Regions from separate parts of the Homo sapiens genome. Here all the other regions are linked to region 1. The links are contacts of gene promoters, found by promoter capture Hi-C in blood cells and fetal thymus (Javierre and others, 2016). All regions are on one chromosome and are shown on one strand. Each heading gives the region's core, a stretch centred on a gene start or on the middle of the fragment in contact. The rest is flanking DNA. Distances are from core to core; before and after follow the strand shown.

Region 1 (4,799 bases), core at 982-3,481:
CCTTGCTGCCTCAGGCTTTTGCTGAAACATCACCTTCTCAGGAGCCCCTCCCTGGCTGCCCCATCTAAAGTTCCCGGCAATGTCCCATCCTGTCCTGATGTTAGATGTCATCTCTGTTTGGCATCAACTGCTGACTATGAGTTCTCCCTCCCAGTAACACCACAAAGGCAGGGGGATTTGCCTGTTTTGTTCACTGCTGTTTCCCCAGCACCTAAGACACAGAAATGTTGAATGGAACTCGTTCAGTGCTCCCTGGACCCCGTGAACCGCCATCCATTCCTCTGCTGCTCTGCTAGACCGAGCTGCATGGAGACGAGCTGCATGGAGATGGGGGGAGCACAATGATGACCCGCAGAAACAAAGCGCCACCGCACGGGTGGTTCATGGGCCTCCAAAGCAGGCAGCAAATAACAACAATCACATAACTACAAACGTGACGTCACGGAAGAAAGGTACAAGAGGCTATACGCTGTGATGGCCCCAGGGCGGGCACTCTGCAGATATCATCTCCGCTTCTCAAGATGGCACCCAGTAGTTGTTAGTTACGGTTCTCAGTTTACAGAAGGGGGAAACTGAAACTCAGAGAGCAGAAGCGGCCCTTTCTGAGATCTGAATCAAACCCAGATCCACCTCTCCTGGCTGATGGCTGTTCAGCTCCTCCCACTTCTCCATCCCTGGAGAGGAAGTTAAGAGCTAAGCTGCTTAGCTGCAGGTCAAAAGGCAGCTGAAGTTTGAGCGGTGCCACAGTCCCCTTAACCCCTCCTTTATTTTGTCCCTCATTGGTGTCTTTCATTGTACTACCTCAAAGCTACCACGTTGAGCTCCTCCCCTGGGATAGATAAGTCTTTTTGAAGGACAGAACAGGTTGTCTCTCAGGAGAGGAGAATGAGGATTCTACCCACATTCAGAGCCAGCCAGGGTGGGGGGCTTCTGTCTTTCTGTAGCCCTTGATGCTGTTCCCTTTTCCTCTTCTTGAGGCAAACACACTCCTGGAATCAGAGGGGAAGCTTCCTGATATACCTCAGTGTCCATGGCTCCAAACCTGCTGGTGTCACCTGAGGCAGGCCCAGAGAGAGACGACACAGTCACTGCTTCAGGCCCAGGGAAGCTCACAGTCACCAACTCCTCCGACGACACTTGGTCACTCAGAACTCTAAACTGTGGGTCAGGAGCGCGACCTTGCTTGCTGTTGTATCCCCGACAGAACTCAGTATCACCACCCTCATTTTGCGGAAAGACATCATGTAAATGACTCGCTCATAAACACCTCTGCCTCTCTTCAACACTGTAATTAACTGCATTTCATGCTCCTTTCCATCACAGTATGGAAGACCACTAAGCACTGGACAGCAAGACTTGGTTCAGTCTAAGAACCAACTAAGCTTCATAGATGGGGGAAACCTATCCCAGTGATCTCGCCTTACACTTTGAAAACCAAGGTAGGAGACAGATGAGATGGAAGGTAGGGCCGTTTCCAGAACAAGAGTAGTCGCTAATATGGGAACTAGTATAAACAACTCCTACCTGACCTGGGCGACGTATGCTGGGCCCTGCGCTAAGCCTTTTACAAGTATTACATCACTGAATCTAAATGACCATAACAGGGAGGACTTCAGAAAAAGGAAATAACCCGCACCAGGCATGCACAGCAAGTCAGCAGTGGGGTCATGATTAAGCCTGCGCCAAAGTGTAGAGGGTGCCCCTGGGAATCCAGGCCAGGCAGATGAGTGGCCCAGGTCGCGATGGTGACCGACAGGAAGGCCGCAGCTGGGACCCACGGCGAGGCTCGACCGTGCTGGGGGTCGGGCTCGCGTGTACACACTTACCGGGGTGCAGGTGAGCGCGCAATGCGCGTGCACAGACCAATGCCCCGAGAGGACAGTGAGCGCGTGCGCGAGGCAGATGGTGGCAAGCACGAGCAGCGCAGCTTCGGGGATCTGCACCCAACTGCTGCCCCAGCCCCAGCAGCCAGCGGCTGCGGCACCCAACCAGGCCGGGTAAAGCAGCCCGGCGAATGGCAGCACCGTGAGGCGCCGCAACAGCGCCAACCGCCGGTACGGCCACACGGCAGCCACCAGCTCGTCACCGTTCGCTATGAGCGCCGGCCCGGCGGCAAGGAGCGCGCGCGGCTGCGGCCCGGGCTTGGGCTGCCCGTCAGGCCGGACCCCGCAAGGCCGGGCCCCGCAGGGCACCGCGTTGCCCACCGCCGCCGCTGCCGCCATCTTTCCTAGCGCCGCGCTCACTTCCGGGCAGAGGAACGCCTCACTTCCGAAGTTTTACTTCCGGTAAGCCCTGAGCGCCGCCATGGCAGCCTGGACTAGGAAGAGCCAGGGCAACAGAACAGGCTGGCCCCGGCAGGGACTACTTCGGGTGCCGCCATGACAGGCTGTGGCCGGAAGAAGAGGCTGGGCGTCGCCATGACAGAGAGGGACTGGAAGACCTAACGGTGCCTGCCTCCGCTGCCACGCCGGACTGAGACCGGAAAAGACAAGGCCGGCAAGGCGGGCTTGGGCGCCACCATGACAACCTGAACCAAAAAAAGCGAGCCCTCCTCCTTGACTACACCAGCACCACCTGTCACCAGGGGCGAAGCCTGGACCCTGCGGAGGCGGGGTCGGGAGCTTCGGAGTTCAGGAGGCGGGGCCCGGTGCGGGGGGCGGGGCTTGTGAGGGGCGGGGTCGGGGACCGCCCCGGAACACAACCACACCGGACAAGAGCCTTAATGTGATAGATAAGAATTACAAATACTAGCCGGGCGCGGTGGCTCACGCCTGTAATCCCAACACTTTGGGAGGCGAGGCGGGTGGATCACCTGAGATCAGGAGTTCAAGACCCAACATGGTGAAACCACGTCTCTACTAAAAATACAAAAATTAGCCGGGCGTGGTGGCACATGCCTGTAATCCCAGCTACTCGGGAGGATGAGGCAGGAGAATTGCTTGAGCCCGGGAGACGGAGGTTGCAGTGAGCCAAGATTGCTCCACTGCACTTCAGCCTGGCCAACAGAGCAAGACTGTCTCAAAAAAAAAAAAAAGAAAAATGAATTACAAAAACCACTTTAGGCCGGGCGCGGTGGCTCACGCCTGTAATCCCAGCACTTTGGGAGGCCGAGGTCAGGAGATCGAGACCATCCTGGCTAACGCGGTGAAACCCCGTCTCCACTAAAAATACAAAAAAAAAAAAAAAATTCTCCGGGCGTGGTGGCGGGCGCCTGTAGTCCCAGCTACTCCGGAGCCTGAGGCAGAATGGCGCGAACTGGAGAGGCAGAGCTTGCAGTGAGCGGAGATTGTGCCACTGCCCTCCAGCCTGGGCGACAGAGCGAGACTCTGTCTCCAAAAAAAAAAAAAAAAAAAAAAAGAAATTACCACTTTAACATAAAAAATGAAAAACTGGTGTTTACTTGAAATTATATACTTCTAGGCCGGGCGCGGTGGCTCACCCCTGTAATTCCAGCACTTTGGGAGGCCGAGGCGGGCGGATCACGAGTTCAGGAGATCGAGACCGTCCTGGCTAACACAGTGAAACCCCGTCTCTACTAAAAATACAAAAAATTAGCCGGGCGTGGTTGCAGGCGCCTGTAGTCCCAGCTACTCGGGAGGCTGAGGCAGGAGAATGGCCTGAACCTGGGAGGCGGAGCTTGCAGTGAGCCGAGATCGCGCCACTGCACTCCAGCCTGGGCGACAGAGCGAGACTCTGTCTGAAAAAAAAAAAAAAAAGAAATTATATAGTTCTATATTATTAACTGTACTGTTGCATAAATGCTATTTGAACAAAACCACAATAGGACTACTTAACAGTACCAATTAGTAGGATTAAACAGTATGTGTGACAAACAGTAACTATTTTATGTTTCTTTTTGTCCTCTGATACAGCAAATTTATTTAAACTTAAAATTTATTGGATATTTAAATTTTGTAGCTTATATTGTTGCATATTCTTTTTTTAATTTTTCGAGATGAAGTCTCACTCTGTCGCCCAGGCTGGAGTGCAGTGGCGCGATGTCCGCTCACTGCAAACTCCACTTTCCGAGTTCAATCGATTCTCCCATTTCAGCCTCCCAAGTAACTGGGATTACAGGCGCATGCCACCGCTCCGGCTAATTTTTGTACTTTTTTTTTTAGACGGAGTCTCACTCTGTTGCCCAGGCTGGAGTGCGGTGGTGCGATCTCAGCTCACTGCAACCTACGCCTCCTGGGTTCCAGCGGTTCTCCTGCCTCAGCCTCCCGGGTAGCTGGGACTACAGGCGCGTGCCACCATGCCTGGCTAATTTTTTGTATTTTCAGTAGAGATGGGGTTTCACTATGTTGGCCAGGTTGGTCTCGAACTCCTGACCTTGTGATCCGCCCACTTTGGTCTCCCAAAGTGCTAGGATTACAGGTGTGAGCCAGCGCTCCCAGTCTAATGTTTTGTGTTTTTAGTAGAGACGGGTTTCGCCATGTTGGCCAGTCTGGTCTCAAACTCATGGCCTCTAATGATCTGGCCGCCTCAGTCTCCCAAAGTGCTAGGATTACAGGTGTGAGCCACGGTGCCCAGTCCTAGTCTTGTTTTGTTTTCTTGGGACGGAGTCTCACTCTTGCCCAAGCTGGAGTGCAGTGTTGCAATCTAGGCTCACTGCAACCTCTGCCTCTTGGGTTCAAATGATTCTCCTGCCTCAGCCTCCTTAGTAGCTGGAATTACAGGCATGAACCACCATGCCTGCTAATTTTTGTATTTTTAGGAGAGACAGGGTTTCACCATGTTGGCCAGGCTGGTCTGGAACTCCTGTCCTGGCCTCAAGAGATCTGCCTGCCTCGACTTCC
Region 2 (4,799 bases), core at 2,300-4,799, 1.0 Mb after region 1:
TCACAATAGCAAAGACGTAGACAGGCCCTGAATGCCTATCACTGGTAGACAAGATAAAGAAAATATGGTATGGTCAGATGCGGTGGCTCATGTCTGTAATCCCAGCATTTTGGGAGGCCGAGGCAGGTGGATTGCCTGAGCTTAGAAGTTTGAGACCAGCCTGGTCAACATGGCAAAATCCTGTCTCCACAGAAAATACAAAATGAAAAATTGGCCAGGCATGGTAATGCATACGTGTGTAGTCCCAGCTACTTGGGAGGATGAGGTAGGAGAGAACTGCTTGAGCCTGAAAGATGGAAGCTAAAGTACGCCAAAATCATGCTATGGCACTCTAGCCTGGGCAATAAGCCTATCTCCAAAAATAAAATAAAATAAAAGATTTAGTAAATACAAAATATGGTACATAAACATCATGGAATACTCTGTGGCCATTAAAAAAAAATGACCATGTCCTTTGCAATAACACTGATGAAGCTGGAGACAATTATTCTTAGAAAACTAATGCGGAGTCCAGGCATGGTGGCTCACGCCTGTAATCCCAGTACTTTGGGAGGCCGAGGTGGGATAATCACCTGAGTTCAGGAGTTTAAGACCAGCCTGACCAACATGGAGAAACCCCTCTCTACTAAAAATACAAAATTAGCTAGGTGTGGTGGCATGCGACTCTAATCCCAGCTACATAGGAGGCTGAGGCAGGAGAATTGCTTGAATCCAGGAGGCGAAGGTTGCGGTGAGCCGAGGTGGCACAATTGCACTCCAGCCTGGGCAACAAGAACAAAAATCCATCTCAAAAAAACAAAACAAAAAACAAACAAAAAAAAGAAAATTAATGCAGAAACAGAAAACCAAATGCATGTTATTATTTATAAGTAAGAGCTAAGTAATAAGAACACATGAACACAAACAGAACAGACACTGAGGCCTAGTTGAGGGGGGAGGGTGGGAGCAGTAAGAGGATCAGAAAACATACCTGTTCGGTGGTATGCTTAGTACCTCAGTGACAAAATAATCTGCACTTCAAACCCCCATGACGTAATTTTAGTTGTATAACAAACCCACATGTGTACACCCAACCAAAAATCAAAGCTAAAAAAAGAAAAAAAAAAAATCCCTGCGTGGGAGAGAGTGCAATGTAGGTGAATGGACTGATTTTCATTACAGATAGTGGCCCAGGTGGGGCTGTTTTCTGATTTATCTTTGTTTGCATGCAGACAGATGAGATTATAACCGGGAGGTCCAGAACCTTAGGTTGGTGGAAAAAACAGGTTGGTGCGGCAGATTCTGTATCTAGGGGTGGGGATATGCCAGGAGACCTGTAGAGACTTTTGGGTTCTTGGCAAGAAACGCTAGGATCAAAAATGCCATGGTGAAGTTCCTGAGGGTGGTGCCCAGTACTGGGAGGAGTGAGGACATGTCAATGTCTACTGTGTGTGTTTAGGAGTGGGTGGGAATCCTGTGGTGGCAGCTACAAGAAAACAGGGTCTGTCATCAGAACTCTTTCCTCTAAGTTTTCAGTCTTCTGTCACCCTGGAAGAAGACCTTAAATCACAGGACAACAGGCAGTGTGACAGCCTGTGTACAGGAGAGCAGAGCCTCCCATTTTCAAATACCCAGAGCTTTGTTCCAGGTCTGGCCCCAGTGATATCTTTTTTCTGGCACCAAATCTATAGAGTTTGCTGAATATCAAACAATTCTCCAACACCAACTCATTGCCTAATAATTGAATTCTGACACCACCTAGAGACAGCACAGACCCTGATCCAGGGCTGGGTCCCACAACATTGTCCTCACTGCAGAGGCCAATCAAAAACCCCATAGGCCCATCTATGCTTCTGAGCTACTGTTTGAAAACTGAGGACTCCCAAAACCTCCCTGAAGTTCAATAATTTGGTACAGCTACTTACAGAACTCAGCAAAACATTGTAGTTATGTTTACCGGTTTCATATAAAAGATGCAGCCCAGGAAAAGCCAAATGGAAGAAATGCATAGAACAAAGAGATGGGGAAAGATGAAACACATAGAAAATCCTGGAAAATATTTGTGATTAATAAAATTCTCCACCTTTTGTGTGCTCCAGGAACAGTATACGGAAAGAAACGCCTTTCTCATTATGACTTAGATGGTGCTCTCTTTTCTTACCTATCACACAGCCAGACACACACTCTGTACATTTTCTCCTTTTTCTCATTAAGAAATTCAGCTGAATTTGTCTTCAGTGGTCAAAATAATTTTTTTTTTTTGAGATGGAGTCTCGCTCGGCCACCCAGGCTGGAGTGCCTTGGCACCGTCTCAGCTCACTGCAACCTCTGTCTCCATGGTTCAAGCAATTCTCCTGCCTCAGCCTCCCAAGTAGCTGGCATTACAGGTGGCCACCACAACTACCAGCTAATTTTTGTATTTTTAGTAGACACAGGGTTATCACCATGTTGACCAGGCTGGTCTCAAGCTCCTGACTTGCGGTGATCCGTCCGCCTAGGCCTCCCAAACTGCTGGGATTACATGCCTGAGCCATGGCGCTCAGCCTAAAATATTTCTTAATCAAACTTTACTTAAGTTTATCTCCATCCCTCAGGCTAGTGAGGGATGGAGATAAGCCATCTCCAATGTAGGAGAAAAGCCCTTTTCTGCCTACATTTTTGCAACCCATGAAGATTTTTTAGTTAGCTGGTACTTCTTCCTGTTGCAATACTTCTTAGGAATTCATTTTTTTTTTACATAAATCTAATATTCTTATTTTAGAAAGCGTAAAAAGTGCCTCAAAACCATAACAACTTCATTACCAGTAAGACCCTCCCAGTTTCCTTTCATCTTAATCTTGACTGCATCTGCCTGTGGGGCCCCAGCTTTCCAAGGCTTTGTAGCTTCTTTCAGAATGAAGGCTCCTTCCGTGGCTGGGGTGAGCAGTCTTGAGATATCCGCAAGGGAGACTCCCCAGAAAAAAATAACAGGGCCTTTAATAACCTCCTGTTGGCCGGGTGCGGTGGCTCACACCGATAATGCCAGCACTTTGGGAGGCCGAAGCGGGTCTGAGGCAGAGAGTTCAAGACCAGCCTGACAAACATGGAGAAAACCCGTCTCTACTAAACACCAAAATTAGCCGGGCGTGATGGTGCATGCCTGTAATCCCAGCTACTGGTGGGGCTGAGGTAGGAGAATCGCTTGAACCCAGTAAGCCGAGATCACGCCATTACATTCCAGCCTGGGCACCACAAGCGACACTGTGTCTAAAAAAAAAAAAAAAAAAAAAAAAATACCCTGTTGCAGGCTTAATATTAGCCTTAGCTTGGAGTCACTAGGTTCAAGCTTTAATGTCCACATCAGTTATTCACTTGGTTTTTGAAACTAAGTGTTAGAAACTCCAGTGAAATTACTCACAATGTTTACATAAAGGAATTTTTAAGATGCTTACTTTTTTTTTCTTTTTTTTGAGCCGGAGTCTCGCTTTGTCACGCAGGCTGGAGCGCGATGATTGGATCTCAGCTCACTGCAACTTCCGCCTCCCGGGTTCAAGCAATTCTCGTGCCTCAGCCTCCCAAGTGGCTGGTACTACAGGCACGTGCCAACACGCCGATAGTTTTCGTATTTTTAGTAGAGACGGGTTTCACCACGTTGGCCAGGCTGGTCTAGAACTCCTGACCACGTGATCCACCTGCCTCGGCCTCCGAAGTGCTGGGATTACAGGCTTGAGCCACCGCGCCCAGCAAGAAAGGGGTTTTGAACCCTAATGCAGTTCCTGTTTTTGTTTCCATCCCCTATTGGCTGGGATCAGACCGCACAATCTAAGCTGATCCTGGTAAGCTTAGACCCAAACTTTTTCCAAATAAAGTAAATGCGCGATTTGCGAGAAAAGGAAAAGGGGGTAGAAGAAGAGGTAGGGTTGATTTACAACTTTTACAACTTATGACCAGAAAGTTGAGTCATTTAAAAGGAACTTAGTTGTCCTAACACCTCTTTACCTCAAGTGATCCGCCCGCCTCGGCCTCCCAAAACGTTGGGATTACAGGCGTGAGCCACAGCGTCCGGCCCCATACATTTTTAATAGGAGAAAAGAGAAACTGTAAACCCAAAGGAACAAAGCTCTTCCCATTCATGAACCCGCACCCCGAGTCAGGATTCTCCCCTGCCCACCCTCCCCTGGTCCCTGCACAATCTGGGAGAGACGCCACGCTGCGGGTGCAGAGCTGCCCAGAGAGGGCTCCAGGCCAGGGTAGTCACCGCGCAGTGAAGAGACAAGACGCCCGGGTGCCGGCTGTCAGCGCAGCTGCCATTTTATGGCTGAACAGGACTGAGGCCGAGCTGAGCAAGGAGAACTGGGGGAGCAGACTGTGGAGCTGACTGCGGGGAGGCCTGAGTCCCGCCACAGCCACTTTTCACCGGTTCCAACCAGTCCCTCTCCTCTCTCGGGATGTCGGACCCTCACTCTCACCATTTTTGGCTTCCAGGAGGTCCCGGTGTCTTAGCTGTGGATCTCCCAATACCTGCAGGACACGGGGCCACACAGCCTGGGCCTTTAGGAGAAGAACCAGACCTGGAGCTCTGACTGCAGCGAGAGACAAAGGCCGCACCAAACCCGGAAACCGTCCTCTTCGCTCCAGCTGCGTTCCTGATTGGATGGTTTCCAGCCCACCATCCCTGATTGGATAATGCTTAAGGCCCCGCCCCCTGAGGCCCTGAGTGACAGTAGATGTGATCAGACGCTGAGCTGAGTGAAGAAAGAGTGACAGCCTAAGCTGCAGCCTTTTCAGGCAGGGCTTCCTTCCTGAGCTGAGCCAGGCCCACCCCAGAGCATGGGAGAATT
Region 3 (4,799 bases), core at 1,281-3,780, 580 kb after region 1:
TCTCCCCTGACGACCCTCCCATGGTCCCTGCAAAATCTGGGAGAAACGCGGCGCTGCCGCTGCAGAGCTGCCTAGAAAGGGCTCCAGGCCATGGCACAGTCACTGCGAGAGGAAGAGACAGGAGGCCTGGCGGCCCGGCTGTCAGCGCAGTCGCCATCTTAAGGCTGAAGGGGGCTGAGGCCAACCTGGGCAAGGAGAACTTGGGGCGCACATTGTGGAGCTGACTGCGAAGAGGCCTGAGTCCCGCCACAGTCACTTCCCACCAGTTCCACCCTGCCCCTCTTCCTGTCTCGGGATGTCGGCCGGGCACTCTCACCATTTCTATGCTTCCAGGGTGTCCTGGGGTTTTAGCTGTGGATCTCCCAATACCTGCAGGTCACAGGGCCACAGAGGCTGGGCCTCCAGGAGAATAGGACACAGACCAGTGAAGACGAGACCTGAAACGCCGGCTGCAGCTAGAGACAAAGGCCGCGCCAAAAGCGGAAAGCCGTCCTCGTCGCTCCAGCTGCGTGCCTGATTGGACGGTTTCCAGCCCAGCGTCTCTGATTGGATAATGCTTTAGGTCCCGCCCCTCAGGCCCTGAGTGACAGAAGATGTGATCAGATGCTGGGCTAAGTGAAGAGAGACAGCCTAAGCTGCAGCCTTTACAGGCAGGGCTTCCTTCCTGAGCTGACCCAGGCCCCCCCCAGAGCATGAGAAAATTCTCTTTTGTACTCACTCTCCTTTTGAATGTATTCAAAAGGTGAACAGAAGTATTTTGCTGGCATATTAATAATACATAAAATTTTTGTTCAAGAGAAAATCAACGTTTACTTTGTTAGTAGTGTATTATCAATACTAAAGCTAATGTTTTTTTTTTTTTTTTTGAGACGGAGTCTCGCTTTGTCACCCAGGCTGGAGTGCAGTGGCGGGGTCTCGCTCACCCGATTTTCCTGCCTCAGCCTCCTGAGTAGCTGGGATTACAGCTACTATTGTTGAAAAACAATAGACAATCACAAAAACAAGCTGACCTTTTTGTGTTCCTTAAGCCCTGTCCTGAAGAGCCCTGTGACTGGGCTTTATGCCAAACAACTCGTTACTAAAGAGCTGTGGTCCCAGACTGCACCGAAGCTTCATGAGACCTCTCCTCGTCTGTGCACGGACGAGTGGCCAACTCTGGAGCCCAGGCTGTTGCTTCCCTGTCTGGTGGTGAATCCTCCACAGTCTGATGAGGGTGGTGTCTGACTCTGGAGCTCAGGCTGTTGCTTCTTGGTCTGGTGGTGAGTCCTTCATAGTCTGGTGAGTGCGGGTGTCCCACTCTGGAACCCATGCTGTTGCTTCCTGGCCTGGTGGAGAATCTTCCAGCCTGGAGAGTGCGGTGTCTGACTCTGGAGCCCAAGGCTGGAAACTTGGGGACGTCCCAAATCCCGGAATGGAAACTCCCCCAGTTCTCCCCCTTGGCGTGCCCTATCTGGTGAGTTTCGGGGGAACTCATGACCCAAGTCATAATAGGAATTTCAAGCCTCATAAAGACATCATGGTTGAAGCAGAGGTGTTTCGTTTCCAGCAAAGCCCAATAGCAAGCTAACAATTGCTCCTCGAAAGGGTTATAAGCTTTGCTGGCCTCTGGCAGTTTCTGGGTCCAAAACCAGAAATGTACCTCTTCCCATCTTGTTTCTGCCTAAGGCTCCAATTAGCATGTTGATCTAGGACAGTTACTTGCAGTTCTACGGGACCATCCCAAATGGGTCATAGATCCAGGGCCAGTTGCACTGCTTGTTTATCTTGTTCGGAAGCCATGATCTCTTTCTCTCCCCAAAGTCATAGCGTTTTCTGGTGGCTGCATGCAGAGGTTGTAACATGTTACCCAAGTGGGGAATATGATGTCTCCAGAATCCAAACAAGCCAATAAATTTCTGAGCCTCATTTTTAGTGGTAGGGGTTGCAAATTCTAGTATTTTAGGCTTAGCCTTTGGTAAAATGAATTATTTCCCTGCATTTCATAGGATGCAACCAGCCCCTATCTTGACACATTATCTTATAAGCAGTAAGGAAACACCATCCACTCTGGGAGATCCCCTCAGCGTCTCCTTTGCTGACTGGAATTCCCTGCAGCACTTCACGCACAAAGGTCTAAATTGCACTAATTTAGATTCCCAATTCTTACAAAGTCCGGTTCCCCTTGACCATTCAATTGCCAAGGGAGAGAACTGGGGGAGTTTCCATCCGGGGATATGGGAAGTCCTCGAGCCTCCCGCCCTGCCCTTGTTGCTAAAAAGTGGCACACTTTTGTTTTTGAATCCTGTTTGTGACACCAAAAGTGTTCTGTGCGGGAAACGCACGAGGGGGAGAAGGAAAGACACACACACAATACCTTTAAGGGTAAACAAGCTTCATTCCACGTAAATAGCAATGCAGATATAATAAGCAAATTATGTAATAAGCAAATCAATATAATAAGCAGATTGATATAACAAGTAGATTGATATAATAAGCAAATTGCAATGGGAAGAGGAGAAAGGAAAAAATATATATATATTTACACTCACCAGACTATGGAGGATTCACTACCAGAGTGGGAAGCAACAGCCTGGGCTCTAGCATCGGACATTGCACTCACCAGACAGTGGAGGCCTCACCACCAGATGGGAAGCAACAGCTTGGGCTCCAGAGTCGGCCGCTCATTCCTGCACAGATGAGAAGAGGTCTCATGAAGCTTCAGCCCAGTCTGGTATCCTAGCTCTTTTGTAACTAGTTGTTTCGCATGAGGCCTAGTCACGAGGGCCTTTCATGACCCGGCACGAGGAACATAAAAATGTCAACTTGTTTTTGCGATTGCCTATTGTTTTTCAATAACTAATGCATAGGAATAGATTGAAATAGAGATTTCTCCAAAACAGCACTGAATGAACGCTTGAAGGGGCTCACACAACCTGTTCTGGGACTCGGTGACCATTGTTTGTGTCCACGTTCAATTGAGTTCAAATTTATTATTTAACTTTTCCTCCACAAATTCGCCTGTCTTGATGAATCAGCTCTGTCTAGGCAAAGGGCAAGGTGAACCTCTTGGGCCTTACACAACCTCCACCTCCTGGGTTCAAGCGATTCTTCTGTTTCGGTCTCCAGAGTAGCTGGCACTACAAAAGTGCACCACCACAACCTGCTAATTTTTTGTATTTTTAGTAGAGATGGAGTTTCACCATGTTGGCCAGGCTAGTCTTGAACTCCTGACCTCAAGTGATCCACCCACCTAGGCCTCCCAAAGTTCTGGGATTACAGGCGTGAGCCACTGAGGTTATCACTAAATGATATCTTTTTGTTTCCTATAACAATGTGAAATTACTTAAAGGTGGTTTCAAATTGAAAAAATAAAAAGAATGCAGATAAAAATAAAATATAAAAAGTTCAAAAAATTACAAGAGATTACAAAATATACATGTATATCTTGAGAGGTCAAAAATGACAAATTTTGTTTATTTACAAGGTTGTATTTATTTATTTATTTATATTTTTATTTTTTGAGACAAAATATTGCTCTGTTGCCCACGATGGAGTGCAGCGGTGCGATCTTGGCTCACCGCAACCTCCACCTCACGGGTTCAAGCGATTCTCTTGCCTCAGCTTCCCTAGTAGCTGGGACCACAGGCTCATACCAGGAGGCCCGGCTAATTTTTTTTATGTTTAGTAGAGACGGGGTTTCACTGTATTAGCCAGGATGGTCTCGATTTCCTGAACTCCTGATCCGACCGCCTCAGCCTTCCAAAGGGCCAGGATTATAGGTGTGAGCCACTGCACCAGCTTTATAAGGTTTTATTAAAATTGGCTTTAGTGTTGATAATACACTATTAACAAGTAAAAGTTGATTTTCTCTTGAACAAAAATTTTATGTATTATTAATATGACAGCACAATACTTCCGTTCATCTTTTGAATACATTCAAAAAGAGAGACAATGAAAAGAGATAGAATTTTCCCATGCTCTGGAATGGGCCTGGCTCAGCTCAGGTAGGAAGCCCTGTTTGAAAAGGCTGCAGCTAGGCCAGGCCCAGCGGTTCACGCCTTTAATCCCAGGAGTTTGGGAGGCCGAGGTGGGTGGATCACCTGAGGTCGGTAGTTCGAGTCCAGGCTGACCAACATGGAGAAACCCTGTCTTTACTAAAAATACAAAAAATTAACCAGGCATGGTGCCACATGCCTGTAATCCCAGCTACTTGGGAGGATGAGATCTATTATATCTCACAGGGTTTACAATTTCTCTTTTCTCCTATTATAAATTTATGAGGCCAGCGGCTGGGCATGGTGACTCATGCCTGTAATCCCAGCACTTTGGGAGGCTGAGGTGGGCAGATCACTTGAGGTCAGAAGTTCAAGACCAGCCTGGACAATATGGTGAAGCCCCATCTCTACTAAAAAAATACAAAAAAATTAGCTGGGCATTGTGGCGTGTGCCTGTAATCCCAGCTACTCAGGAGGCTGAGGCAGGAGAATTGCTTGAACCTGGGAGGTGGAGGTTGCAGTGAGCCAAGATCGTGCCACTGCACTCCAGCCTGGGCAACAGAGAAAAACTCCATCTCAAAAACAAACAAAAAAAATTTATGGGGCCAGGTGCAGTGGCTCACACCTGTAATCCCAGCACTTTAGGTGGTCTAGGCAGGTGGATCACTTGAGGTCAGGAGTTTAAGACAAACCTGGCCAAAATGGGGAAACCCCATCTCTACTAAAAATACAAAAATTAGTTGGGTGTGATGGTGAATGTCTCTAGTCCAGGCTACTCAGGAGGTAGAAGTGAGAGAATAACTTGAACCCAGGAGTGGAGGTTGC

Evidence for each region. The method cuts DNA at HindIII sites, captures the fragments that hold promoters and counts their contacts. A CHiCAGO score of 5 or more calls a contact.
Region 2: a contact is called between a fragment that was not itself captured here and the fragment with the promoter of ATP13A1 in region 1, in 1 of 17 cell types (total CD8 T cells). The highest score is 6.5, in total CD8 T cells.
Region 3: a fragment that was not itself captured here is called in contact with the fragment with the promoter of ATP13A1 in region 1 in 2 of 17 cell types (total CD8 T cells and fetal thymus); the score reaches 5.5 in total CD8 T cells.

What each region holds. Positions count from the first base shown.
Region 1 is chr19:19,661,445-19,666,243 of GRCh38, forward strand. ATP13A1 (ATPase 13A1) reads right to left here and starts at 2,232. Exons shown (of 26, transcript NM_020410.3): 1 at 1,827-2,232. The coding sequence starts at 2,222. RefSeq lists enhancers at 1-625, 1,399-1,448, 1,580-2,562, 1,834-1,935, 2,279-2,568 and 1 more and silencers at 1,969-2,228, 2,669-2,718. The HindIII fragment of the contact is 4,289 bases long and covers 1,381-4,799 here.
Region 2 is chr19:20,657,017-20,661,815 of GRCh38, forward strand. ZNF626 (zinc finger protein 626) reads right to left here and starts at 4,555. Exons shown (of 4, transcript NM_001076675.3): 1 at 4,428-4,555. The coding sequence starts at 4,430. RefSeq lists a silencer at 4,680-4,749. The HindIII fragment of the contact is 495 bases long and covers 3,303-3,797 here.
Region 3 is chr19:20,237,972-20,242,770 of GRCh38, forward strand. LOC105372310 (a long non-coding RNA gene) reads right to left here. Exons shown (of 7, transcript XR_007067164.1): 2 at 2,529-2,666; 3 at 1,011-1,819; 4 at 317-579. Among named protein-coding and RNA genes, the nearest start is that of ZNF486, 73 kb to the left of the region's middle. RefSeq lists enhancers at 1-224, 736-1,254. The HindIII fragment of the contact is 325 bases long and covers 2,369-2,693 here.